Regions from separate parts of the Homo sapiens genome. Here all the other regions are linked to region 1. Evidence: promoter capture Hi-C in 16 types of primary human blood cells and fetal thymus (Javierre and others, 2016). All regions are on one chromosome and are shown on one strand. The core of a region is centred on a gene start or on the middle of the fragment in contact, and the rest is flanking DNA. Distances in the headings are between cores, read along the strand shown.

Evidence for each region. Contacts are between HindIII fragments. The CHiCAGO score rates a contact against its expected background, and 5 or more counts as called.
Region 2: a fragment that was not itself captured here is called in contact with the fragment with the promoter of LRFN3 in region 1 in 1 of 17 cell types (neutrophils); the score reaches 6.5 in neutrophils.
Region 3: a contact is called between a fragment that was not itself captured here and the fragment with the promoter of LRFN3 in region 1, in 1 of 17 cell types (M2 macrophages). The highest score is 6.0, in M2 macrophages.
Region 4: a fragment that was not itself captured here is called in contact with the fragment with the promoter of LRFN3 in region 1 in 1 of 17 cell types (neutrophils); the score reaches 5.3 in neutrophils.
Region 5: a contact is called between the fragment with the promoter of RBM42 here and the fragment with the promoter of LRFN3 in region 1, in 1 of 17 cell types (neutrophils). The highest score is 7.6, in neutrophils.
Region 6: the fragment with the promoter of COX6B1 here is called in contact with the fragment with the promoter of LRFN3 in region 1 in 1 of 17 cell types (neutrophils); the score reaches 8.4 in neutrophils.

What each region holds. Positions count from the first base shown.
Region 1 is chr19:35,933,559-35,937,623 of GRCh38, forward strand. LRFN3 (leucine rich repeat and fibronectin type III domain containing 3) reads left to right here and starts at 2,816. Exons shown (of 3, transcript NM_024509.2): 1 at 2,816-3,997. The HindIII fragment of the contact is 21,793 bases long and covers 1-4,065 here.
Region 2 is chr19:35,481,291-35,485,355 of GRCh38, forward strand. No RefSeq gene overlaps it. Among named protein-coding and RNA genes, the nearest start is that of KRTDAP, 7.1 kb to the right of the region's middle. RefSeq lists a silencer at 3,439-3,528. The HindIII fragment of the contact is 4,631 bases long and covers 1-4,065 here.
Region 3 is chr19:35,553,776-35,557,840 of GRCh38, forward strand. It overlaps ATP4A (ATPase H+/K+ transporting subunit alpha), which reads right to left. Exons shown (of 22, transcript NM_000704.3): 11 at 3,880-4,065; 12 at 3,138-3,313; 13 at 1,901-2,037; 14 at 1,665-1,815; 15 at 1,391-1,559; 16 at 1,147-1,301; 17 at 1-54. Among named protein-coding and RNA genes, the nearest start is that of ATP4A, 7.8 kb to the right of the region's middle. The HindIII fragment of the contact is 254 bases long and covers 2,282-2,535 here.
Region 4 is chr19:35,605,043-35,609,107 of GRCh38, forward strand. It overlaps HAUS5-DT (HAUS5 divergent transcript), which reads right to left. Exons shown (of 2, transcript NR_186318.1): 2 at 3,347-3,761. Among named protein-coding and RNA genes, the nearest start is that of HAUS5-DT, 5.6 kb to the right of the region's middle. The HindIII fragment of the contact is 3,634 bases long and covers 82-3,715 here.
Region 5 is chr19:35,626,858-35,630,922 of GRCh38, forward strand. It overlaps RBM42 (RNA binding motif protein 42), which reads left to right and starts at 2,179. Exons shown (of 10, transcript NM_024321.5): 1 at 2,179-2,424; 2 at 2,663-2,816. The coding sequence starts at 2,297. RefSeq lists enhancers at 1,149-1,676, 1,602-1,841, 1,990-2,284. The HindIII fragment of the contact is 21,053 bases long and covers 1-4,065 here.
Region 6 is chr19:35,646,171-35,650,235 of GRCh38, forward strand. It overlaps COX6B1 (cytochrome c oxidase subunit 6B1), which reads left to right and starts at 2,153. Exons shown (of 4, transcript NM_001863.5): 1 at 2,153-2,233. RefSeq lists enhancers at 2,145-2,204, 2,365-2,414. The HindIII fragment of the contact is 14,427 bases long and covers 1-4,065 here.

The DNA.
Region 1 (4,065 bases), core at 1,566-4,065:
AAAGAGATGGGGGCTGGGCGCAGTGGCTCACACCTGTAATCCCAGCACTTTGGGAGGCCGAGGTGGGGGTATCACCTGAGGTCAGGAGTTCAAGACCAGCCTTGCCAACATGGTGAAACCCCATCTCTACTAAAAATACAAAAATTAGCCGGGCATGGTGGCACATGCCTGTAATCCCAGCTACTCGGGAGGCTGAGGCAGAAGAATCGCTTGAATCCGGGCGGCGGAGGTTGTAGTGAGCAAAGATCACGCCACTGCACTCCAGCCTGGGTGACAGAGTGAGACTCCGTCTCAAAATAAAAATCAGCCAAGCGTGGTGGTGCATGCCTGTAATCCCAGCTACTCGGGAGGCTGAGGCAGGAGAATAGCTTGAACCCAGGAGGTGGAGATTGCAGTGAGCCGAGATCATGCCACTGCACTCCAGCCTGGGCGACAGAGCAGGACTCTGTCTTAAAAAAAAAGAGATGGGGGCTGGGCGCAGTGGCTCACACCTGTAATCCCAGCACTTTGGGAGGCCGAGGTGGGGGGTATCACCTGAGGTCAGGAGTTCAAGACCAGCCTTGCCAACATGGCGAAACCCCATCTCTACTAAAAATACAAAAATTAGCTAGGCATGGTGGTAGGTGCCTGTTATCCCAGCTACTTGGGAGGCTGAGGCAGGAGAATCACTTGAACCAAGGAGGCAGAGGTTGCAGTGAGCCAAGATTATGCCACTGCACTACAACCTGGGCAACAAAGTAAGACTCTGTCTAAAAAAATAAATAAATAAATAGGCCGGACACTGTGGCTCACGCCTGTAATCCCAGCACTTTAGGAGGCCGAGGCGGGCAGATCACGAGGTCAGGAGATCAAGACCATCCTGGCTAACATGGTGAAACCCTGTCTCTAATAAAAATACCAAAAAAATTAGCTGGGCATGGTGGCAGACGCCTCTAGTCCCAGCTACTCGGGAGGCTGAGGCAGGAGAATGGCGTGAACCCGGGAGGTGGAGCTTGCGGTGAGCCAAGATCACACCACTGCACTCCAGCCTGGGCAACAGAGCTAGACTCTGTCTCAAAAATAAATAAATAAATAAAATAATAATAAAATGGGGTTATTTGTTTTTTGCTTGTTGCATTGTTTAAGTCCCTTATAGACTGAATTCCTCTTTATGTCTCTAAATACATTTGTCTCTTTGGTACACATCTGCGGTGCTACATGCCCTCAACCCACCAGGTTTTAGCATAGCTGTTGTGGTAGACAGTTCCGTGTGCAGTGCAGATAGCCCTGGTTCAGCCCAGCTGTTCTCAAAATGTGGTCCCTGACCAGGTGTAGTGGCTCACACCTGTAATCACAACACTTTGGGAGGCCTGGGAGGGAGGATTGCCTGAGGCCAAGAGTTCAAGACCAGCCTGGGCAGCATATTGAGACCCTGTCTCTACAAGAAATTTTAAAAATTAGCTGGATATGGCGATGCATGCCTGTAGTCTCAGTTACTCTGGAGCCTGAGGTGGGAGGATTGCTTGAGCCCAGGAATTTGAGGTTGCAGTCAATTATGATTGCACCAATGTACTGGGTGACAAAGCAAGACCCTGTCTCAAAAAAAAAAGTATGGTCTTTGAAAAGTCACATTAGCATCACCTGGGTACTCGTTAAAAATGCAAATGTTTGGGTCCCACCTCAGACCCACTGAACCAGAAACTCTGAGGTTGGGACCTGGAGATCTATGGTGCCCCCGGGTGATCCTGGTGGGCTGCACTGCAAGGACACCTGGCCTGGCTCCTGCAAGGCAAGGCATCCCTCTCTGCTTTTCTTTCTTTCTTTCTTTCTTTTAAAGACAGAGTCTCACTCTGTCACCCAGGCTGGAGTGCAATGGCTGGATCTCAGATCACTACAATCTCCACCTCCCGGGTTCAAGCAATTCTCTTGCCTCAGCCTCCCGAGTAGCTGGGATTACGGGCGTCCGCCACCACACCCGGCTAATTTTTGTATTTTTAGTAGAGACGGGGTTTCTCCATGTTGGCCAGGCTGGTCTCCAACGCCTGATCTCAAAAGATCCGCCCGCCTTGGCCTCCCAACGAGCCGGGATTACAGGCGTGAGCCACCGCCCCCGGCTGTCAGTGTGTCTTGAGGTCTTTCCCTAATCCCAGATGGCACAAGTTTTCCCTCTTGCAGGCAGAGAAAGGAGCCTTGGGAAGGAGCCCCTCTGGCCTGAAAGATCAAGCCTATTGCTGGGCATGGCCAGGTAAGGAAACTCCAACCGTGGAAAGGACATTCCAGGGAGGTGGTGCTGAGATAAGGGGGGCAGAAAGAGACAGGTTTGGGGGGCCAGTGGCTCTGGAATGAAGCGCTACACTCAAGGCTAGGAATAGTTACTGAATGCACATACACACATACCATTCTCACAGCCCAGGTGCTGCGTCTTAGAGCGTGTGAGTGTGTATGTGTGTGTCTGTGTGTGCGCGCGCACGCACGTCTCTATCTCTGTTTCTGTCTTTCTCTGACTTGTCCTTATCTCTTGTCTCTCCATCACTCTCTGTGTCTCGCTGTCTCTGTGCATTTCCATGTCTCGAATATGTGTGTGTTTCAATCTGTCTCTCTGCCTCTTTCCATTTTCTCCTCTCTATCCATCAATCTAAGCCTGCCCATCTTTTTGTCTGCCTTTCTGTATCTCCGTTCTTCTCTGTCTCTCTGTCTCAGTCTCTCTGTATCCAGGGATTCTCTTTCCCAGCAGCGCCAGTGCGACTCCATGGGAGGTGGGGCCGGGGCGCGTCTTTGAGAGAAGGGGCGGGTGCCTACGCCTTTAAGCGCGGGTGCGCGCGGAGCCTGCGCCTTTAAGCGCCGGTGCGCGCGCTGCCCTGGGTTGCCGGCGAGGAGGCCGCGGGAGCGCCTGGACCCGGCCCGCCCAGCCCGGCCCCCGCCCGGCCCCCGCCTCGGCCCCGGCGGGGGAGGGGTCTCTGAGCGCGGCCCCTCCCCCCTGCGCCCCCGCCTGCGCTGCGGTGCCCCCATCCCGCGTGTCCCAGTCTGTCTGACCGTCCCTCCGCTCCCAGGCCTCGCCCCACCCGGCCCTGGGGCTGCCCGGTCGCCCCCCTCCCCACCGCAGCCGGTCCCCTCCCTCCCAGTCAGCCTCCGCCGCAGCCCAGGAAGCCAGCCGGGACGCCGCCGCCCCGGACCCCGCGCCCTAACCTCCACCTCGGGGGCCTGCACCCCCAGATTGAATCGGGAATTCCGGAAACCCGAGCCTGGAACCCTGATCTGGGACCAGCACCCCGAGATCCGGCCGTGGAACCCCAAGATCTGGAGCCTGAACCCCAGTATATGGGGCTGGAATCTCAACATCGGTCACTGGGACCTCAATATTTGGAGCCGGAACCCCACAATTTGGAACACAGACCCCAATATTTGGAGCAGAACCCCAAGATTTGACATCTAAAACCTCAAGCCTGGAGCTGAACTCTGAATTCTGGGCCTGGGACCTTGAAATCTGGGACTGGATTTCCAGTACTGTACCCTGGAACCCACTCTTGGGGACCTGAACCCTGGGATTCAGGCCTCAAATTCCAAGATCTGGACTGTGGGATTCCAAGGGGCCTGAACCCGAGTTTGGGCCTGAAGTCCTTGCTGCAGACCTGAGTGCTTAAATCTGGGGCTTGAGACCTCCCAATCTTGACTCAGCACCCCAATATCTGAATGCAGAACCCCGGGATCGGATCTCAGACTCTAAACCCCACCGTTTGGCTGCTTAGCATCCCAAGACTGGACCTGGGAGACCCTGACCCTGAACAACCCAAACTGGACCCGTAAAACTGGACCCTAGAGGCCCAATATTTAGGGGTCTGGAACCCCGAGTATTAAGGTCTGGAGACTCCGTTGCCACAGATTTGAGCCGAGTCAGGACACAGTCCCTCTACAGAAGCCTTGGGGACAGGAAAAGCATGACCAGATGCTCCCTCCAGAGCCCTGACCTCTGACTCCCCTGGAGCTAGGACTCTGCTCCCTGGGGCTGCTTCTAGCTCAGGTAAGGCTGCTGAAACCTCAAGGTGGGGACGGGCTGGGAGGAGCATTGTGGCTGCGGGTTACGGTACC
Region 2 (4,065 bases), core at 833-3,332, 450 kb before region 1:
TTTCTGCCTAAAGCAGGGTATACATTTCCCATCAGGTAGAGGAGATAACTCAACGCTGGAGACTTGAATCTGCATAAGCAAATCTTGCTAAATAACCCTTTATCTTCCATTAATTTCCCCTGTATATTTTACTTACCTTCCCACAATTTACATCACCTGGATGTCCAAATCCCTTTTTCACCGTTTTGTCACTTTTCCACAATTTTTTTTTTTTTTTTTTTTAGACAGAGTCTCACTCTGTCGCCCATGCTGGAGTACAGTGGTGTGATCTGGGCTCACTGCAACCTCTACCTCCCAGGTTCAAGGGATTTTCATGCCTCAGCTCCTGGGTAGTTGGGATTACAGGTGTGCACCACCACACCTGGCTAATGTTTTTGTATTTTTAGTAGAGATGGGGTTTCACCATGTTGGCCAGGCTGGTCTCGAACTCCTGACCTCAAGTGATCCGCTTTCCTCAGCCTCCCAAAGTGCTGGGATTACAGGCATGAGCCACCATGCCCAGCTTACTTTTCCACGATTTATCACCCTTTGTTAAAACGGTATATGAGCCTCAAGCCTGGCCACTTCTTTAGGTTTTCACTTCTTTTCTGTGAAGCTCCTGGATGCATGCATAATAAGCCTTTTCTCCTGCTAATCTATCTTTTGTTAATTTTTTTTTTTAAGATGGAGTCTCACTCTGTCGCCCAGGCTGGAGTACAGTTGTGTGATCTCGGCTTACTGCTACCTCTGCCTCCCAGGTTCAAGCAATTCTCCTGTCTCAGCCTCCTGAGTAGCTGGGACTACAGGCATGCGCCACCATGCCCAGCTAATTTTTGTATTTTCAGTAGAGATGGCGTTTCACCATATTGGTCTGGCTGGTCTCGAACTCTTGACCTCAGGTGATCCACCTGCCTCGGCCTCCCAAAGTGCTAGGATTACAGGCATGAGCCACTGTGCCTGGCCTCTTTTGTTAATGTAATTAGCATGCCACAGCCACTGAACCTAAGACAGTAGAAAAAAATGTTTTTTTCCTTCCCTACAGATGCTAGCCTACATTCATTATTTTATTAAATTTTGAAAAACGAAAATATTCTATTATTTCTTTTGCATTTATTAGTTTCAAATTCTCGTATAAAGAAAAATTGTGCCAGCTGGGCATGGTGGCGCATGCCTGTAATTTCAACACTTTGGGAGGCCAAGGCCAGAGGATCACTTGAGGTCAGGAGTTGAAGACCACCCTGGGCAACATAGCAAGACACCCATCCTACAAAAAATTTAAAAATATACCAGGTGTGGTGGCTTGTGCCTGTAGTTCCAACTACTCAGGAGGCTGAGGCAGGAGGATTGCTTGAGCCAGGGAGGTGAAGGCTGCCTCCAGCCAAGATCATGCCACTGCACTCCAGCCTCGGTGAAAGAGCAAGACGCTGTCTCAAAAAAAAAAAAAAAAAAAAAAGAGAGAGAGAGAGAAACTGTTTACCCTGAAGTATATAGTTCATAGAGGAAAGTAAGGATGAATCCTTGATTCATTTCCTTTATTTACCAGTTTTTTAAATGAGTTGATTCCCAGAAGCCTCCCAAAGTAATCACTTAGTTTGGCTTTGGTTTTTAGTCCCTTTATGTCCTGGCTGAGTATGACAGGGACTTTTTTTTTTTTTAAGTTCATTTATGAATGCCAAATTCAAAGTTACTTTCCCCAGTTTTCTTACCCTGGTGCAAAACTATCTCCTCCCTTCTGTCAGATTTAAACATATCGTTCTAAGGTATCTAGTGCCTTCTCCCTGGATGCTTCCTTTATCGTAAGTATCAACTGGATCATAACTCCTTGAAGGCCTTCTGCATAGCACTCAACATCATGCCCAAGGCCGTGCTTCTCAAACGTTATTCCACATGTGAATCATCCAGGGGCAGGGGTCTTGTTAAAATTCTGATGCATTAGCTCTGGGTGAGCAGAGCTTCTGCATTTCTAGCAAGCAAGCACCAAGTGATGCTGATGCCGCTGGCTCGGGGACCACACTCTGAGTAGCAAAAGGGTGTGGTAAATGTGAGAAATCAGTTTCATTCATTCAGTTAAGAGGCACCTACTCTGGGTCACTGCATGGACTAGGCCCTACCACTTTACAGTGCAAAGCGTTTTTTTGGTGTTTGTTTGCTTTACTAGAAAGTTTTGATTTTAATTTATTCTTTTGAATATGTAATTTGCACATGGTAAAACATTTTTGTTCATAAAATCCAAAAGGGTACACAGTGAAAGTATCTAACTTTTCAAAAGTTATCACTGTTACTTCTCAAGTTTTATTCCAGATAATAGCAGATAATATGCAGATAATAGCATATATTTGTACCATATCTTTATTTTAACCACATGGCAGCATAATGATCTGCCACTTTCTTTTTTTCATTTTACTCTATCTTGGAGATTGTTTCATAGCTCAGTGTATATCTCTACATCCTGTTGAACAGATGGTATAGTATCCACACAAGATTCATTTGTTGGCCAGGCATGGTGGTTCACACCTGTAATCCCTGCACTTTGGGAGTCCAGTGCAGGCGGATCACCTGAAGTCAGGAGTTCAAGACCAGCCTGGCTGACGTGGCAAAACCCCATCTCTACTAAAAATACAAAAATTAGCCGGACATGGTGGCGGGCACCCATGTAGAAGATGTAATTCCATCTTCTCAGGAGGCTGAGGCAGGAGAATCGTTTGAACCTGGGAAGCAGAGGTTGTGGTGAGCCAAGATTGCACCACTGCACTCCAGCCTGAGCAACAGAGTGAAACTCCGTCTCAAAAAAAAAAAATGCATTTGTTATTGTTTTTATAAAGTATAAAATGAAGAGTGACTACTTCCTGCCTTTTATTAAATAAAGGTTATTTAATAAGATTTGCTTATGCAGATTCAAGTCTCCAGTGTTGAGTTATCTCCTCTACCTGATGGGAAATGTACAGGTCATCCCCAGGGAGAACAGGTGCTATGTCTTCCATTCTTTGAATCCTCTGAATGGCCTGACCCATGTTTGTGCATTTTGTCAATTTCACATGATCTAGCTAGTATACATCTGTCACTCATGTGCACAGCTTGTCTACACTTCACTTTGTCTTTTTCTTTTTGGTTCAGATTGCAGTCTCTCTAGACTCCAATTGTTTCTTGACTGTGTATTCTGTCAGCACTTGCAAATTGATCTGGTGTTCTCTGGCTTTAATAATATGTTATTGTGAAATACAACATGCATAGGTGTGCATAAAATGTACATATTTAAAGAAGAAATGAAACATGATATAGAAGTGGCTTCTGTCACACACCGTCCCCCCTTATCTCCTATGTGCCACTCTCCTATCACATGGGATCTCTCCATCTAAGGGGCAACTACTATCCTGATTCTGGGTTAATCTTAAGTTCTCTGACGTTCCTTTTTGAAGTGGTTCTCAGACTTTAGTGAATCAGACTTGCTTAGAGGGCTTGTCAAAACACAGATTGCTGGGCCCCACCCCTGGTTTCGCACTTAGTAGATCTGAAGTGGGGCCCAAGAATTTGCATTTCTTTTCAGTTCCCAGGGGATCCTGGTGCTGCCAGCGTGGGGACCACACTTTGAGAACTACCGCCTTATCTCAGAGATACTCTTAACTTGTGTATCGTGACTCCTAGTCCCCTGGGGATGCTTTACTCCTCCCCTAAAACCTAGTCACTCGATGGGTGTCCCTTAAGCACCTCCCCTCTTCTTCCTGTACTCCATTTCCTATCACCTAGTTTGTGAGTGCACAATCTTCACTAAGTATTTCAACTGATTGTGGCATTTCACCAGTGTCCATAGTTTTCTTCTCTGTTGGTTATTCCATTTATAGCTTTCCTCTCCTTTGTGTGTATTGGAAGGAAGAGCATAAGCAACTTTTTTTTTTTTTTTGACAGAGTCTTGCTCTCTCACCGAGGCTGGAGTGTAGTGGTACAATTTTGGCTCACTGCAACCTCCGCCTTCCGGATTCAAGCGATTCTCGTGCCTCAGCCTCCTGAGTAGCTGGGATTACAGACATGCATCACCACACCCGGCTCAGTTTTGTATTTTTAGTAGAGATGGGGTTTCACCATGTTGGC
Region 3 (4,065 bases), core at 1,159-3,658, 380 kb before region 1:
CAGGTGCATGATGTCACTCTCGGCCTTTTCATATGCCAGGGACACAGATGGGAACTGGCCAGGAGTGGAAGGAACTGGGACTGAGGGTTTGGCTGGGCCCTTGTCCCCTCCACTTCGGGTCCCCCTTCCCCCACTTGTGAGCAGGAACAGGACTGAGGTTAGCAGGCAGGACCTGCAGGGACGGCACAGCCACACCAGCCTGGACAGCCTGGGCCCCACTGGCCCCTGGGTGTTGGCATCCTGGTGCCCATCTTCGTAAGAACATCTGCTTTTATCTTCTCCCTCTGTCTCCCTCCCTCTCTTTCTCTGTTCCTCACTCTGTTTCTCTGTCCCTGTCTCCAGTGTAATTCTCTGTGACTGTATCTGCTCTTGTGTATTTCTGTGTCACTCCCTATCTCTGTGTATCTTCAGTCTCTCAGTGTCGCCGTGCCCCTTCATCTGCTTGTGCCTAGAGTGGCAGCAGAGCATACTGACCACGACCACAGGCTGTGGGACCTGTGACTGCTCAAGCTCAAGTCACAGCCGGGCCACTTATTTGCCCAGTGACCTGGGACAATCCACTCTACCTGTCTATGCCTTGATGAGCTCATCAGTAAAGTACGGGTGATAGTAACAAAACTCATCTCATAGTGTGGTTATGAGTACAAAATTAAGGAAATGATGGTGTGTCTGGCCCAGAGAAAGCACTGTGTAAATGTTACCGAATAAATACCTGTCAACACAGCTGCGCCTCTGGCTGCATTCGTGACTGTATCTGTGGTTCTTTTCTGTCTGTCTGCCATGGGGTCTATCTGAGGGGGTTTATTTGTCCGTGTCTGTTTAGGGGCACGTGTCTGTGATTCAAGTTTGGCCAGATACCTGTTCTGTTTCCATCTCTGTCTGAGTATCTGTATCTGAGTCATGTGTGTGCATGGGTCGGCCCGGGCCTACCTGAGTGTCCGCCTGTGTGTGCATGGCTGTATGTCCATTTAGGTCTGTTCACCTGCCTGCCACCCATGTGTCCTGCACTGGCTGTCATTGCACACACAGGTCTTGTCTGTCACTCTGTGCCCAAGAGTGTCTGTGGTGGTCTCTGTCCCTCCTGTCCATCTGCAAGCAAGTGTCTCTGGGCACCCTGTGGATGGGTACCCTGGGCTGTGGACTTACAATGTCAGTGCAGAGTTCGATGAAGAGGATGGTGATGCACCCGAGGGGCAGGGGCACGCTGACGGTGATGTAGATGAGGTAGGGTGTCAGCTCTGGGATGTTCTTGGTCAATGTGTAGGCAATAGACTTCTTCAGGTTGTCGAAGATCAGTCGACCTGTGGGGTAGGGTGGGCACCTCAGCCTCCTCACAGCCCTCTCCCTCCTGTGCCCACACTGCCTGCCCTCCCCCTGGCGTGGCTCGGACCCTGCTCCACGCCTGTCACAATGGAGGCAAAGTTGTCATCCAGCAGGATCATGTCAGCTGCATTTTTGGCAGCATCTGAGCCAGCGATGCCCATGGCTACTCCGATGTCTGCCTTCTTCAGAGCTGGGGAGTCATTCACACCATCCCCCGTGACGGCCACAATCGCACCCTGCAGGCAGTGGGTGCAGGTGGTGGGTGGGTGGTCAGTGAGAGGCCGGTCCAAGACCAGCCCCGCCTGTCTGCCCGCCTGCCCACCCTCATCAGCAGGGCTCACCAGCCGCTGGCAGCTCTCCACGATCACCAGCTTCTGCTGGGGGCTGGTGCGCGCAAACACCATCTCGGGGTGGGTGCGCAGGGCCTCGACCAGTTCCGATGGGTCCATGTCCTTCAGCTGCATGCCATTGATCACACAGGCACGGGCATCCCTGGGGAGGAGATGGGAGGACCTCGCTGGGACCTCGGTCTGTGCCAGATGTGGGGAGAACCCCGGGGAGGTCTGGGGGGGCTTACTTGCGATTAACCTGGTCTACGGGCACACGGAGGCGGGCAGCGATGTCCTCCACTGTCTCGCTGCCTTCCGAGATGATGCCCACACTGGCTGCAATGGCCTTGGCGGTGATGGGGTGGTCACCCGTTACCATGATCACCTGTAGGGGGAACCAGTGGATCACTGACCCCTTCAGATCAGCCCAATCTCCCTGTCCTCCCTGGGAGACATCTGCTGATACACGTGTTCATTTACTTGACCAAGCGTGACCACCTCCTACGTGCCTGGGATATAGCAGAGACAAAAGAGACAAAAATCCCTGTCCTTGAGGAGCTCTAGTGAGGGTGACAGAAAATAAAGAAACGAATTATATAGTGTGTTAGAAAGTGGAAAAAAACATATTAAGCTTGGTGAAGGAAACGGTGACTCGATTTTAAGTGTACCCAGGGAAGGGCTTATTGAGAAGGTGATATCTGAGCAGAGACCTGTAAGAGGTGAGAGAGTCAGCCACGTGGAAAGCTGGGAGAAGAGTGCTCCTGGCAGGGAGAACAGCAGGTGCAAAGGCCCTGAGGTGAGGACAGGCCCGAACTGTCGGAGGAACAGCAGGGAGGACACCATAACTGCAGAGGAGTGAACAAGGAAAGAGGGCTAACGAACAAGCTTAGAAAGGTAACAAGGCCCGATGTAACAGGGCCGTAGAGACACGGGAAGGGCTTGGGCATTGCCTGCCTGGCCTTGGCTTTCCCACCCTTGTTTTGTGTTTGGGGAACCACTCCTCTCCCCTACACCATCAGTTGCAGTGAGGTCCCTGGCTAAGATTGGGTAAGTAAGCCCAGACCTGGCCAATCAAGGTCTTCCATCCCCCAGCCCCAGTGACTGGCTCAGGGATAAATGAGTGACCCAATCCAGTGCTACTGCAAAAGAGGCACTCTCTTTTTGTGGGGTGGCTAAGCAGGTGGGAGTTAAGTTTGAGCTGCTGGAGCAGGGGTGTGTGTGTCCCCAAGTGAAGGGAGTGCCTGCAAATAAAGCCAGCAAAGAGAACAGCAGAGCTGAGACATGGAGAAAGGAAAATTCCTAATGACACTGAGCTCCTGGATCTGGCTAGACCTGAAGCTTAATTCCCCAGAATTTTTCAGTATCATAAACCAATGCATTTTGGTTCAAGCCAGTTTCAGGTGGGTTTGTCATGGGGTTCTTCAACCCAAATCCTGCTGCCATCCTCTGTCCTCACTCCACTTGTTCCTCCCCACAGTGGCATACCCGGATGCCTGCGGTGCGACACTTGAGCACAGCATCAGGGACGGTGGCCCGGGGTGGGTCAATCATGGATACAAGTCCCGCAAAGCAGAGGCCGCTAGATGGAAAGTTCATGGCCTCTACGTCGAAGGCATAGCCAGGCGGGTAGTCCTTCTCATTCAGGTAGAGCTGGCAGAAGCCTGACCGGAAACGGGGAAGTCAGGGAAGAGCCCTGGGCACACCCTTTCTTAGCAGGGCCAGGAAATGGGTAAAATAACCAGGCCCCTTGCACCAAACACCTATGGATGCCTGACCTTGTGCTGACCCCTTCACTCACATTATCTGAATCTACCCTCACAACCACCCTGTGAGGCCCATTCTCATCTTACAGATGAGGAAACTGAGGCTCAGAGAGGGGACATTTCTTGCCAGAGGTCACACAGCAAGTAAAAGGCCCAGAATTGGACCACAGATCTGCTTTCTAGGGTAGAGGCAGCGAAGTTTAAGGCGTCAGGACAAAAATTGGGAGAGGTTAGAGGTCAGGATACGGATAAAAGTCCAGGTGAGGACTGGGGTCAAGGTAGAAAGTGAGGACAGACAGGGGTCAGGACTGGTACAGGGAAAGTCAAGGGTGAGGCTGTGGACTGCGACAAATCAGCCAGCAGCCAGGGATGAGGACGGTCAGGGCTGGGCCGGGAGTGGTGGGCAGGGTCTGTGCTAGCTCCTCCTCGCACCTGGAGTCTCCTCCCCTGCCCAGGGGTCTCACCGAGCACGCGTTCGCCCAGGCCTCCCAGGCTGAGGTAGGCGGTCTGGAAGGCCTCGCGCCACTGCTCGTCCAGCGGCAGCTCCTGGCCCTTGATAAGGATGGAGCTGCAGCGCTCCAGCACGCGCTCGGGGGCGCCCTTCATCACCAGCAAGTGTCGCGGGTCCCGCGGGTCCTCCAGCGTATGGA
Region 4 (4,065 bases), core at 649-3,148, 330 kb before region 1:
CTAAAAGCTGAGTTCCTAGCCGTGACTGAACGGGTGGTCGGGCACACCTCATTCTACCTCCTCCCTTGCTGACTGCCATGAAGCTTTCTTCCCTAAGGGTTAAACAGAAACCAGCCCTATTGAAAGACTCATTCACTGCTAATTTCAACCAATGGCCTGAAATACATGGCTGCTCCTCCCTTTTGTGGTTTCAACATAACAACTGACCAGCATTCCTTCCTGATCAGAGGCCACCTAACCACGGGGTGTGGCTCTGGCCAGTCTACAGAGGCTGCACACAAAGGGCCTTTGTGTCCTCTGCATCACCTTTTGATGTATAGGGCCTAATTGTAATACATTTAAGTGTTAAGTCTCCACTCCAAAGTGAACATGGGGCCTGGCACGGTGGCTCACGCCTGTAATCCCAGCACTTTGGGAGGCCAAGGTGGGCGGATCACCTGAGGTCAGGAGTTTGAGACCAGCCTGGCCAACATGGTGAAACCCTGTCTCTACTAAAAATAAAAAAATTAGCCAGGCATGGTGATGGGTGCCTGTAATCCCAGCTACTCATGAGGCTGAGGCAGGAGAATTGCTTGAACCCTGGGAAAGAGAGGTTGCAGTGAGCTGAGATCGCACCACTACACTACAGCCTGGGTGACAGAGTAAGACTCCATCTCAAAAAAAAAAAAAAAAAAAAAAAAAAGTGAATATGGGATGTTACTACACATGTGCTGTACCTTCCCTTCATGAATATTCATAGCTCCTCCTATAACCTGTTGAATATGTATACTGAGCCAAGCCATTCAGCGTTAACTCTGACCTTATCCTTCCCTTACTGGAGGTGCCTGCTCTCAGCTTCTACCGGAGGCTACACTTCTCGGCCTGTGAGATGGCCCGGCTGCAGGCTGCAACTCTTTATGAGAAATAAAGCTCTCCTTTCCAAATTTGTAAACCTGTATTAGTCTGTTCTCACGCTGCTGAAAAGAACTGCCCAAGACTGGGTAATTTATAAAGGAAAGAGGTTTAATTGACTCACAGTTCCGCAGGGTTGGGGAGGCCTCAGGGAACTTAAAATCATGGTGGAAAAGAAAGCAAAAACGTCCTTCCTCAGATGGCAGCAGGAAGGAGAAGTGCCAAGCAAAGAGGGAAAAGCCCCTTATAAAACCATCAGATCTCGTGAGAACTCACTATCTCAAGAACAGCAGCATGGGGGTAACCACCCCCATGATTCGATTACCTCCCACTAGGTCCCTCCCACAACACATGGGGATTTGGGGAACTACAATTCAAGATGAGATTTGGGTGGGGACAGCCAAACCATATCAAAACCTCATGATTCTTCAGTTGACATCTAATCTGAGCTACCATGGTCTATCAAAAAACCACAGCTCTTGAGGGGATCTCAATGGCTGTTAACAAACTGGTTAGAGTTCTGGTCAGGTTCTGATTGTAGAGAGCCTCTGTAACAGATATGGATTGCCTCCTTCCCCCCACCCTCCTTGTTATTTTTATTTCATTTTATTAAATTTTTTTTTGAGACAGGGTCACACTATGTCACCCAGACTGGAATGCAGTGGCACAATCTCAGCTCACTGCAACTTCTGGCTCCCAGGTTCAAGTGATTCTCATGCCTCAGCCTCCTGAGTAGCTAGGACTACAGGTGCATGCCACCATGCCCAGCAAATTTTTATATTTTTTGTAGAGACAGGGTTTTGCCATGCTGCCCAGACTGGTCTCAAACTCCTGAGCTCAACCAATCTGTCTGCCTTGGCCTCCCAAAGTGCTGGGATTATAGGCGTGAGCCACTGTTCCCAGCCATGATTTTTATTTAACAAATACTCATTATTTAACAAATACTTTCTGAGCACCTACTGTGTCCCAGGCATTGTCTTGGGAACGAGGAACACAACGGAGCAAGAGAAGTAAGGCCAACTTCTTCTCTGATGGAGCTTACATTCTAGTGGGAAAGAAAACTATAAACAAGTATACCCAAAAATAAACAAGATAATTACAGGGAATGGTAAATGCTATAGAGAAAAATAAAACAGAATAAGAAGCTAAAGTGGTGCCAGGACTGGTCCAGCAACTATTATGGTGTTGGGAGCAAGCCCCCCAAAATATGGCCATAAACTGACCCCAAGACTGGCCACAAACAAAATCTCCACAGCACTGTGACATGTTCATAATGGCCCTAACGCCCAAGCTGGAAGGTTGTGGGTTTACGGGAATGAGGGCAAGGAACACCTGGCCCGCCCAGAGTGGAAAACCACTTAAAGGCATTCTTAAGCCACAAACAATAGCATGAGCGATGTGTGTCTTAAGGACGTGTTCCTGCTGCAGTTAACTAGCCCAACCTATTCCTTTAATTCGGCCCATCCCTTCGTTTCCCATAAGGGATACTTTTAATTTAATATCTATAGAAACAATGCTAATGACTGGTTTGCTGTTACTAAATATGTGGGTAAATCTCTGTTCGGGGCTCTCAGCTCTGAAGGCTGTGAGACCCCTGATTTCCCACTTCACACCTCTATATTTCTGTGTGTGTGTGTTTAATTCCTCTAGCACCAGTGGGTTAGGGTCTCCCCAACCGAGCTGGTGTCTGCAATGGTGTGCCACCAGATAAGTACGGAAATTGCCAGCAAGTGTTTAGAAACACAGCAATTTGACATATCCATGACATCCAAGTATAGGATCAATGGATTTTCTTGTTGAACAGGGTAGAGACCAAAAGGATTGGTCCATGACAGGTTGGAAACATCAAACAAATGATCCTTCTCCATAGTTACAAGTAGTTTGAGATACACTGAGCTAGTGGGCAATGATGTCTACAAGGTATATTATTTAGAGTCATGCTAGCTGCTATAACAAATAAACCCCACCATTTCAGTAGCTCACAAAATAAAAGTTCTTTTTTTTTTTTTTTTTGAGACGGAGTTTCACTTTTGTTGCCCAGGCTGGAGTGCAATGGCACGATCTCAGCTCACAACAACCTCTGCCCCCTGGGTTCAAGCGATTCTCCTGCCCCAGCCTCCCAAGTAGCTGAGATTACAGGCATGCACCACCACACCCGGCTGATTTTTTTGTATTTTTAGTAGAGACGGGGTTTCTCCATGTTGGTCAGGCTAGTCTCAAACTCCTAACCTCAGGTGATCCACCTGCCTCAGCCTCCCAAAGTGCTGGGATTACAGGCATGAGCCATCACGCCCAGCCAGAAGCTCATTTCTTACTGTTCCTTTGAGCACATTCCAGCATCAGGGTCTTTCCACTTGCTGTTCCCACTTTGGGAACTCCATTTTCACAGTTTTCAAGTAGCTCTCACACTTTGGCTCTCACGTCTCAGCTCAAAGAACATCTTAGAAAGGCCTTCTGTGGCAGAGCCAGCAGGATGTTTATTGACTGCCTAGACCAGGACTACATTTCCCAGAGGCCCTTGCAGCTAGTTGAAGCCATAAGACAAGTTATGTTCAATGGACTGAGAGCAGAAGTGATGTATGTCACTTTAGGGTGAAGACTTTCAAGAAGCAGGTGCGAGTTCCTTATTCTCTCTTCTGCCTGGATTCAAAAGACTCTGAGCCCATAGAAGATGGTTGAATCACCTTATGGAAGAAGCCTGGATCCCTGAATTACTATGTGGATCAGGAGAAATGTCTGATGGGATGTTCTATGAGTAAGAAATGAGAAGACTCTTCTCAAACGTGGAAGGAGCTGCTGAAACCAAAATCACAAGTCCTAGAGAAGCTTCTTATTATCTCTCAGATGGTGGATGGGTTCCAAAAAGCATCCTGAAATTATCCAGAAAAACAGAAAAGAGATTTCAGATAAAGCAAAGGGAGAGAGATGCTGACAGAAGAAGACCAAGAGGCCACAGGGGCTCTGCTCCTTCAGGATCTAAGAAAGCAGGAAGGCACCAGTACCTCCCACCAAGGCCAACAGAACAGATACCATGAGAAAGGAACCAAGAAAAGGACAAATGGTGACATGTCTCCAAAACAAGGAGACATTGAGCATAAGAAGCAGAAAGTGAGGCCAGGTGCAGTGGCTCACACCTGTAATCCCAGCACTTTGGGAGGCTGAGGCAAGTGGATC
Region 5 (4,065 bases), core at 929-3,428, 310 kb before region 1:
CCGCCTCCCGGGTTCAAGCGATTCTCCTGCCTCAGCCTCCCAAGTAGCTCGGATTACAGGCGCTCGCCACCACGCCCAGCTAATGTTTGTATTTTTAGTAGAGACGGGGTTTCACCACGTTAGCCAGGCTGGTCTTGAACTCCTGACCTCGTGATTCACCCGCCTTGGCCTCCCAAAGTGCTGGGATTACAGGTGTGAGCCACCTCGCCTGGCCTCTAAGTTTTTCTTGTTGGTAAACATCTGAGCAAGCAAAAATTTAAGTTTTGACAGGAAAAAAAAAAGACAATCAAATGCAATATTTGGACCTTGTTTTGATCCTGATTCTACTATCGTATAAAGACATTTTTGAGACAAGGAAAACTGAACACGGTCTGGGTGTTAGATGATACTAAGAAATTAATTTGATGGTATTCATAATGGCATAGTTAATGGTATTTTTTTTTTCTTGACACTGAGTTTCACTCTATCGCCCAGGCTGGAGTGCAGTGACGCGATCTCGGCTCACTGCAACCTCTGTCTCCCGGGTTCAAACAATTCTCCTGCCTCAGCCTCCCGAGTAGCTGGAACCACAGGCGCACGCCACCACGGCCGGCTAATTTTCGTATTTTTAGTAGAGACAGGGTTTCACCATGTTGGCCAGGCGGGTTTCAAACCCCTGACCTCAGGTGATCCGCCCACCTCGACCTCCCAGAGTGCTGGGATTACAGGTGTGAGCCACTGAGCCCAGCGTTAATGGTATTTTTTAAAAATAGTTCTTATCGGCCGGGCCGAGATCGCGCCACTGCACTCCAGCCTGGGCGACAGAGCGAGACTCCGTCTCAAAAAAAAAAAAATAGTTCTTATCTGTTAAGGAGACATAATGGCGCATTTATGACTGAGTTGATGTCTGGAATTTGCTTTAACATACTCCAGCAAAAAAATATAAAAATAAGAAAAGTATAAGGCCATGCGCAGTGGCTCATGCCTGTAATCCCAGCACTCTGGGAGGCCGAGGCGAGTGGATCACTTGAGATCAGAAGTTTGCTACCAGCCTGGCCAACATGGTGAAACCCCGCCTCTACTAAAAATACAAAAATTAGCCGGGTGTGGTAGTACACACCTGTAATCCCAGCTACTAGGGAAGCTGAGGCAGGAGAATCCCTTGAGTCCAGGAGGTGGAGGTTGCAGTGAGCCGAGGTCACACTACTGCAATCCAGCCTGGGCGACAGAGCGAGACTCCGTCTCAAAAAAAAAAAAAAAAAAAAGAAGAAGGTACTTTGTAACATTCTCCCCGCCCTTGAGAATGTACTTTATAAGCCTATCCCAAACCTGTAAGAACTAATGATAATCCCACCACCCTTTGCTGACTCCTTTTTCGGACTCAGCCCGCCTGCACCCAGGTGAAATAAACAGCCTTGTTGCTCACACAAAGCCTGCTTGGTGGTCTCTTCACACGGACGCGCGTGACAAAGAAGTATAGATCAAGTGAAATCCAGAAGTGTTGAATATTGGTAGCGTTTGAGATGTACTTAAGAGTGCGTTATACTATTCCCCTTAATGTGCATGTTTGAAAATACTCAGAATAAAACACTTGTGAGGGCTACGGGAAAAAAAAAAGGGTCAGCTGTGGCCCAAGAAAGGACAGGGACCAAGCCCACGGACGTGCTCCTCTGAGTTGCACTAGTCTCTGGGCCTTGGCTCCCACCCTGAACAGCTCTCATCTTTAAATGTCTTCAGCTGTCCTCCTCCAGGAAGCCGGGTCAGGCGCTTCCTCCCGGGCGTCTCCGGTCTTCCTGGAAACCACAGGTCGGGTGTCAACCTACTCCAGGATAGGGGCCCCGAGGGGCCAGCCAGGCCTCCCAGCCTTGCCCAACCCTGGGGTTGACACGGACTTTAGCGTCTTTTTAAACTTCCGGCGCGGGCTCTGCGGTGGCACAGGAGGGTCCTCCAAACTTTCCTGCGATCTCAAAGGTCCAGATTCCACATTGGGGATGGGCCCAACTGACTTTGCTTCGCTCTCATTAGCCGGTGGTCCTCCAGGAAAGCGGGGCCGCCTCTCCGCTGTGCTCTCATAGGCCCAGGTTCTTGCGTTCGTGTGTCCTTCTCTCACTCTGATTGGCCTATATTCCCCCTGAGGGTGTGGCCAAATCTCATTGGCTCTCGCGCCCGAATGTATGACGTCATGCGCCAGCGCCCGTCGCTTTTGCTGGACGTCATCCTCGGGAGCCCACCCGGACGAAGGGGGAGAGTAGACAGCAGAACCAGCGGCGGCGGCTAAGCAGAGACTGTAGTAGCGGCGACAGCGACGACGGCAGCGATGGCTGGGGCGGGGCCAGCCCCGGGACTCCCGGGTGCAGGAGGACCCGTGGTCCCGGGTCCTGGCGCTGGCATCCCGGGCAAAAGCGGCGAGGAACGCTTGAAGGAAATGGAGGCGGAGATGGCCCTGTAAGGCCCGCGACAGAGAGTGATAAAAGTCGTCCCAGAGCCAGAGCCACCGAATCTCGGAGCCTCCAGGCCTCGATAGGCCGGAGATACGGCTCTAACATGGGGAAGTGGGACCTTCGGGATTGTGGGGGCGGGGATAGGGGAGAGGTTGGCAGGGGTGAGGGTCCCCTCGCGATATACCCACAGTTCCAAAATTGGTACGAGGTCCTGAGCGCTGATGTCTGTTCTACTCCTCCAGGTTTGAGCAGGAAGTTCTGGGGGCTCCAGTACCTGGAATCCCAACTGCTGTGCCTGCGGTGCCCACTGTCCCCACGGTCCCCACAGTAGAAGCGATGCAGGTCCCAGCGGCTCCTGTGATCCGCCCAATTATCGCGACCAACACATACCAGCAGGTACGGCTGAGCTAAGGCATGTAAGTCAGGGAACACAATGCCTCGAACAGAGTAGGTGTTTGTGTACAGAGAGCTGTTGACGTTTTGGCTTGTTGACTAATTAGCATGACAAATATTTTATATGCCAGGCACTGAGAACACAGTAATGACTGAGAGAGACATTTCTGCCCTGTGGGAGCTTATATTCTAGAACATGTTGTCCAGTAGAGCTTTCTGCAATGACGAGACTGTTCTGATATATTTAAAATTTATATTTAATAGTTCGTTATTCTCATTAGTCACATTTCAAGTGCTCAGTAGCCAACTATATATGACTAGTAGAGAAAGAGAGAGAAATTATTAAGATGAAAATAGGCTGGGCGCTGGGCGTGGTGGCTCACACCTGTAATCCCAGCACTTTGGGAGACCAAGGCGGGCAGATCACGAGGTCAAGAGATCGAGTCCATCCTGGCCAACATGGTGAAACCCCATCTCTACTAAAATTACAAAAATTAGCTGGGTGTGGTGGCACGTGCCTGTAGTCCCAGCTACTTGGGAGGCTGAGGCAGGAGAATCGCTTGAACCCAGGAAGCGGAGGTTGCAGTGAGCTGAGATTGCGCCACTGCACTGGAGCCTGGTGACAGAGCGAGACTCCGTCTCAAAAAAAAAAAAAAAGCCCTGAGGCAGGTGCATACCTGTTGTGTTGTTGTGTTCAAGGAACAGCAAGGAGACCAGTGACAGTGGAGTGAGCAAAGAGGAAAGTGGGAGGAGATAAGGACAGAGAGGTGAGGCCAAATCTTGTAGAGCCTTATGGCCATTTTAAGAACCCTGGTGGCCAGGCACGGTTGCTCACGCCTGTAATCCCAGCACTTTGGGAAGCCAAGGCGGGTAGATCACAAGGTCAGGAGTTCAAGACCAACCTGGCCAACATGGTGCAACCCCGTCTCTATTAAAAATACAAAAATTAGGCGGGCGTGTCGGCGGGCGCCTATAATCCCAGCTACTCCGGAGGCTGAGGCAGGAATATCACTTGAACCCAGGAGGCGGAGGTTGCAGTGAGCCAAGCTCGTGCCACTGCACTCCAGCCTGGACAATAGAGCGAGACTCCGTCTCAAAAAAAAGACTGTAAGGGACAAGGGCAGAAGCCAGGAGATGGAGGAAGGGGCTAGTACAGTAATCTAGACAGGAGTTAATGGTGGCTTGGATGGAGGTTGTGCATGGGAGATGGGGAGGACAGGTTGGACACAGTTTCAGTGGGTGCTAAGTGCTG
Region 6 (4,065 bases), core at 903-3,402, 290 kb before region 1:
TGGTGAGGAGCCTGGACTTTGTCTCCAGGGCTCCTGGGGAGCCATCAAGGGTTTTGTTTGTTTGTTTGTTTTTTGAGATGGAGTCTCACTCTGTCACTCTGGCTGGAGTGCAGTGATGCAATTTCAGCTCACTGCAACCTCCGACTCCCAGGTTCAAGCAATTCTCCTGCCTCAGCCTCCCAAATAGCTGGGATTACAGGTGCACACCACCACGCACAGCTAATTTTTGTATTTTTAGTAAAGATGGGGTTGCACCGTGTTGGTCAGGCTGGTCTTGAACTCCTGACCTCAGGTGATCCGCCTGCCTTGGCCACCCAAAGTGCTGGGATTATAGGAGTGAGCCACCGTGCCTGGCCCCCATCAAGGGGTTTTAAGCAGGGAAAGGGATTTGGATTTTAGGAAGATCTCATTGCAGGGGATGAATACATGCATGTAAACAGGTAATTCCACAAATAATCACAATGTTGATGGACACAGAATGTGTAAGAAGAGGTCCCTGACCCAATTCCATCTGGACACTGCACCCCAGATGGTATGTGAGAGGCTTTAGAGGCCAGATGGGGGAGGAAGGAAAGCAGTTCTCTTTCATAGCTCCCTCTCCTAGTCCCTAGATGCTTCCTTCATTTCCACAAGAAATTCTTGCATTCAGCAAATATTTATAGACCACTTCCTGTGTGCCAGGCACTGCTTTAGATACAATGGTGAATGAATAAGGCAGACAAAAATTCTTCCTTTATGATAATTCTTTTCTGTTGAGGGAGGCAAAAAGAGGTAAACATAATGTAAAAGAACAGATATAGCCGGGCACGGTGGCTCACGCCTGTAATCCCAGCACTTTGGAAGGCCAAGGCGGGCAGATCACCTGAGGTCAAAAGTTCAAGACCAGCCTGACCAACATGGACAAACCGCATCTCTACTAAAAATACAAAATTAGCCAGGTGTGGTGGCGCATGCCTGTAATCCCAGCTACTGGGGAGGCTGAGGCAGAAGAATCGCTCTAGCTCGGGAGGTGGAGGTTGCAGTGAGCCAAGATCACACCACTGCACTCCAGCCTGGGCAACAAGAGCAAAACTCTGTCTGAAAAAAAAAAAAAAAAAAAAAAAAAAAAAGCCAAATTGGCCAGGTAGGGCAGCTCACGCCTGTAATCCCAGCATTTTGGGAGGCCGAGGTGGGCAGATCACCTGAGGTCAGGAGTTCAAGACCAACCTGACCAACATGGTGAAATCCCATCTCTACCAAAAATACCAAAATTAGCCGGGAGTGGTGGCGTGCGCTTGTAATCGCACCTACTCGGGAGGCTGAGGCAGGAGAATCGCTTGAACCGAGTAGACGCAGGTTGCAGTGAGCCAAGTTCGTGCCACTGCACTCCAGCCTGGGCGACAGAGTGAGACTCCGTCTCTCTCTCTATATATATATTTTAAGGGTAGGGATTTTTGTGTTTTGTGCAGCGTGCTTTCTCAACCCGTAAAGTGCCTGATGGCTGGATACGGTGGGTCACGCCGGTAATCCTAACGCTTTGGAAGGCCGAGGCGGGAGGATCGCTTAGAGACCAGGAGTTCGAGTCCAGCCTGGGTAACACAGCAAGACCCCATCTCTATAAAATGCATATATATATCCAGGAGTAGCGGTGCGCATCTGTAATCCCAGCTACTCGGGAGGATGAGGCGGGAGAATCGCTTGAACCCAGGAGGCGGAGGTTGCAGTGAGCTGAGATCGCGCTACTGCACTCCAGCCTGGGCCATAGAGTAAGACCCTGTCTCAAAAATTTAAAAAAAAGAAAAAAAAAATTTAAAGAAAAGAAATACCTGACACAGAAAAAGCGTTCAATAAATATTTCTTGCATGAATAAAAGTACTTTCGCTGGGACATTTTTCTCCACACCTACCCTCCAGCCAGCCCCGGGATCTATAACACTCTCTCCGAGTGAAGACACAGAGGTGATGAGATCGGGTAACCCACGGGCGCCCGAGCCCCAGCCGCGCAAGCTCACGATTGGGCCAGAAGTGAGGATGAACAAGCATTTAGCCCAATAGAAAGTCGTAGTTCTCTTGCTGGGCGTGGCTTGAATGACTTCAGTGGCCTCCTCCTGGGAGGGAGCTGAAGCCGCTCGCAAGACTCCCGTAGTCCCCACCTCTCTCAGCTTCCGGCTGGTAGTAGTTCCGCTTCCTGTCCGACTGTGGTGTCTTTGCTGAGGGTCACATTGAGCTGCAGGTTGAATCCGGGGTGCCTTTAGGTGAGTGTGGAGGGTTCTGTAACCTGGGACCCCAGTCTAGCGGGCTGAGGAGCCGGACCCCAGCTTCCCTGAGAACGGGTTGAGGCTTCCGGCTGGCGGCGTCCGGCCTCCCTGGACCCCGGGGCCCTGTTCTGTTCATCGTAAGAGCTAACAATGATACGGTTCTTCCTTGATGCCAGGCAACATCCCAAACAACTTTAATTAATTTATTTAACTCTCCCACCAGCCCTATGAGATAGGGCCTGCGATTATCCCCTTTTGTCAGTAAACAGGCTCAGAGATACCAAGCGACCTAGCTGAACCTACACAGCGACCAGGATTTGGCCCAGGAGTTTGTCCTCCAGGGCTCTTCATGGCTAATTCACAGGCGTGGCCTCTCGCGGCTTGCCTGGGCCGCAGCCTGGCTCCCGGGTGTCCAGTCCATCCTCCCTTTTGGACGTTGGAGGGGCCGCAGCGTCATCTCCGATGCACCCTCATCCTCAGATACCGGGTAGAGATCTCGCCGGTAACGATCCTTCCTACTGCGTCTGTGCCCCAGCAGCTGGTGTTTTACACCCCACTTCCCCACCGAAAGACTGTTTTAGTGCTCCAGACCCCCACCACCACCTTGCGTCGCTTGAATTTGACACTGCTCTGCAAGTCTCTGTATAGCCCCACGACTCCTAGGATTCCCTGGAATATAGATACTTTTCTCTCAGGCTCCCGACGAACACTGTCACTTCTTCAGAGACATTATATTAAAGGTGTTTAACCCTGGGTCCGCAGAGTTGGTAGAATTCAAGGAATGCTAGTACTTGAATTGGGGTGGGGGGTGGAATTGCATCTGTGTTTTTACTAACCTTTTGAGGCAGCAACCTCGGTAGTACTAGCAGCAGCGGTGATTTTGTTAGCAATGAAAATCATAGACATTCCTTTTTTTTGTTTTTCTCCTTTTTTGAGACAGGGTCACTGTGTCACCCAGGCTGGCGTGCAGTGGAGAAATCTTGGCTCACTGCAACCTCTGCTTCCCTGTGCAAGCGATCCTGCCTCAGTAGCTGGGACCACAGGCACGCGCCACCACACCTGGCTAATTTTAATTTTTTTTTTTTTTTTTGAGACAAGATCTTGCTGTATCGCCCAGGCTGGAGTACAATGGCACAATCTCGGCTCACTGCAACCTCCGCCTCTTGGGTTCAAGTGATTCTCCTGCCCCAGCCTCCCTGGTAGCTGGGATTACAGGTGCACGCCACCATGCCCAGCTAATTTTTTGTATTTTTAGTAGAGATGGGGTTTCACCATATTGGCCAAGCTGGTCTTGAACTCCTGACCTCAGGTGATCCACCCACCTCGGCTTCCCAAAGTGCTGGGATTACAGGCGTGAGCCACCTCTTCCGGCCAATTTTAATATTTTTTTTGTAGAGATGAGATGGGGTTTCACCATGTTGCCCAGGCTGGTCTTGAACTCCTGGGCTCAAGCGATCCTCCCACCTCAGCATTCCAAAGTGCTGGGATTACAGGTGTGAACCATTGTGCTCCACCCAAAATCACAGGTATTCTTATACCACATTATAACAGCAAATGTCACAAAATACTATATTCATTCATGATTACTTCAAAATTGTATTTTTTTTTTTTTTTGAGACAGTGTTTTTGCTCTGTTGCCCAGGTTGGAGTGCACTGGCACAATCTCGGCTCACTACAACCTCCGCCTCCTGGGTTTAAGCGATTCTTTTGCCTCAACATCCAGAGTAGCTGGGATTATAGGCACCTGCCACCACACCCAGCTGATTTTTATATTTTTAGTAGAGCCAGGGTTTCACCATGTTGGCCAGGCTGGTCTTGAACTCCTGACC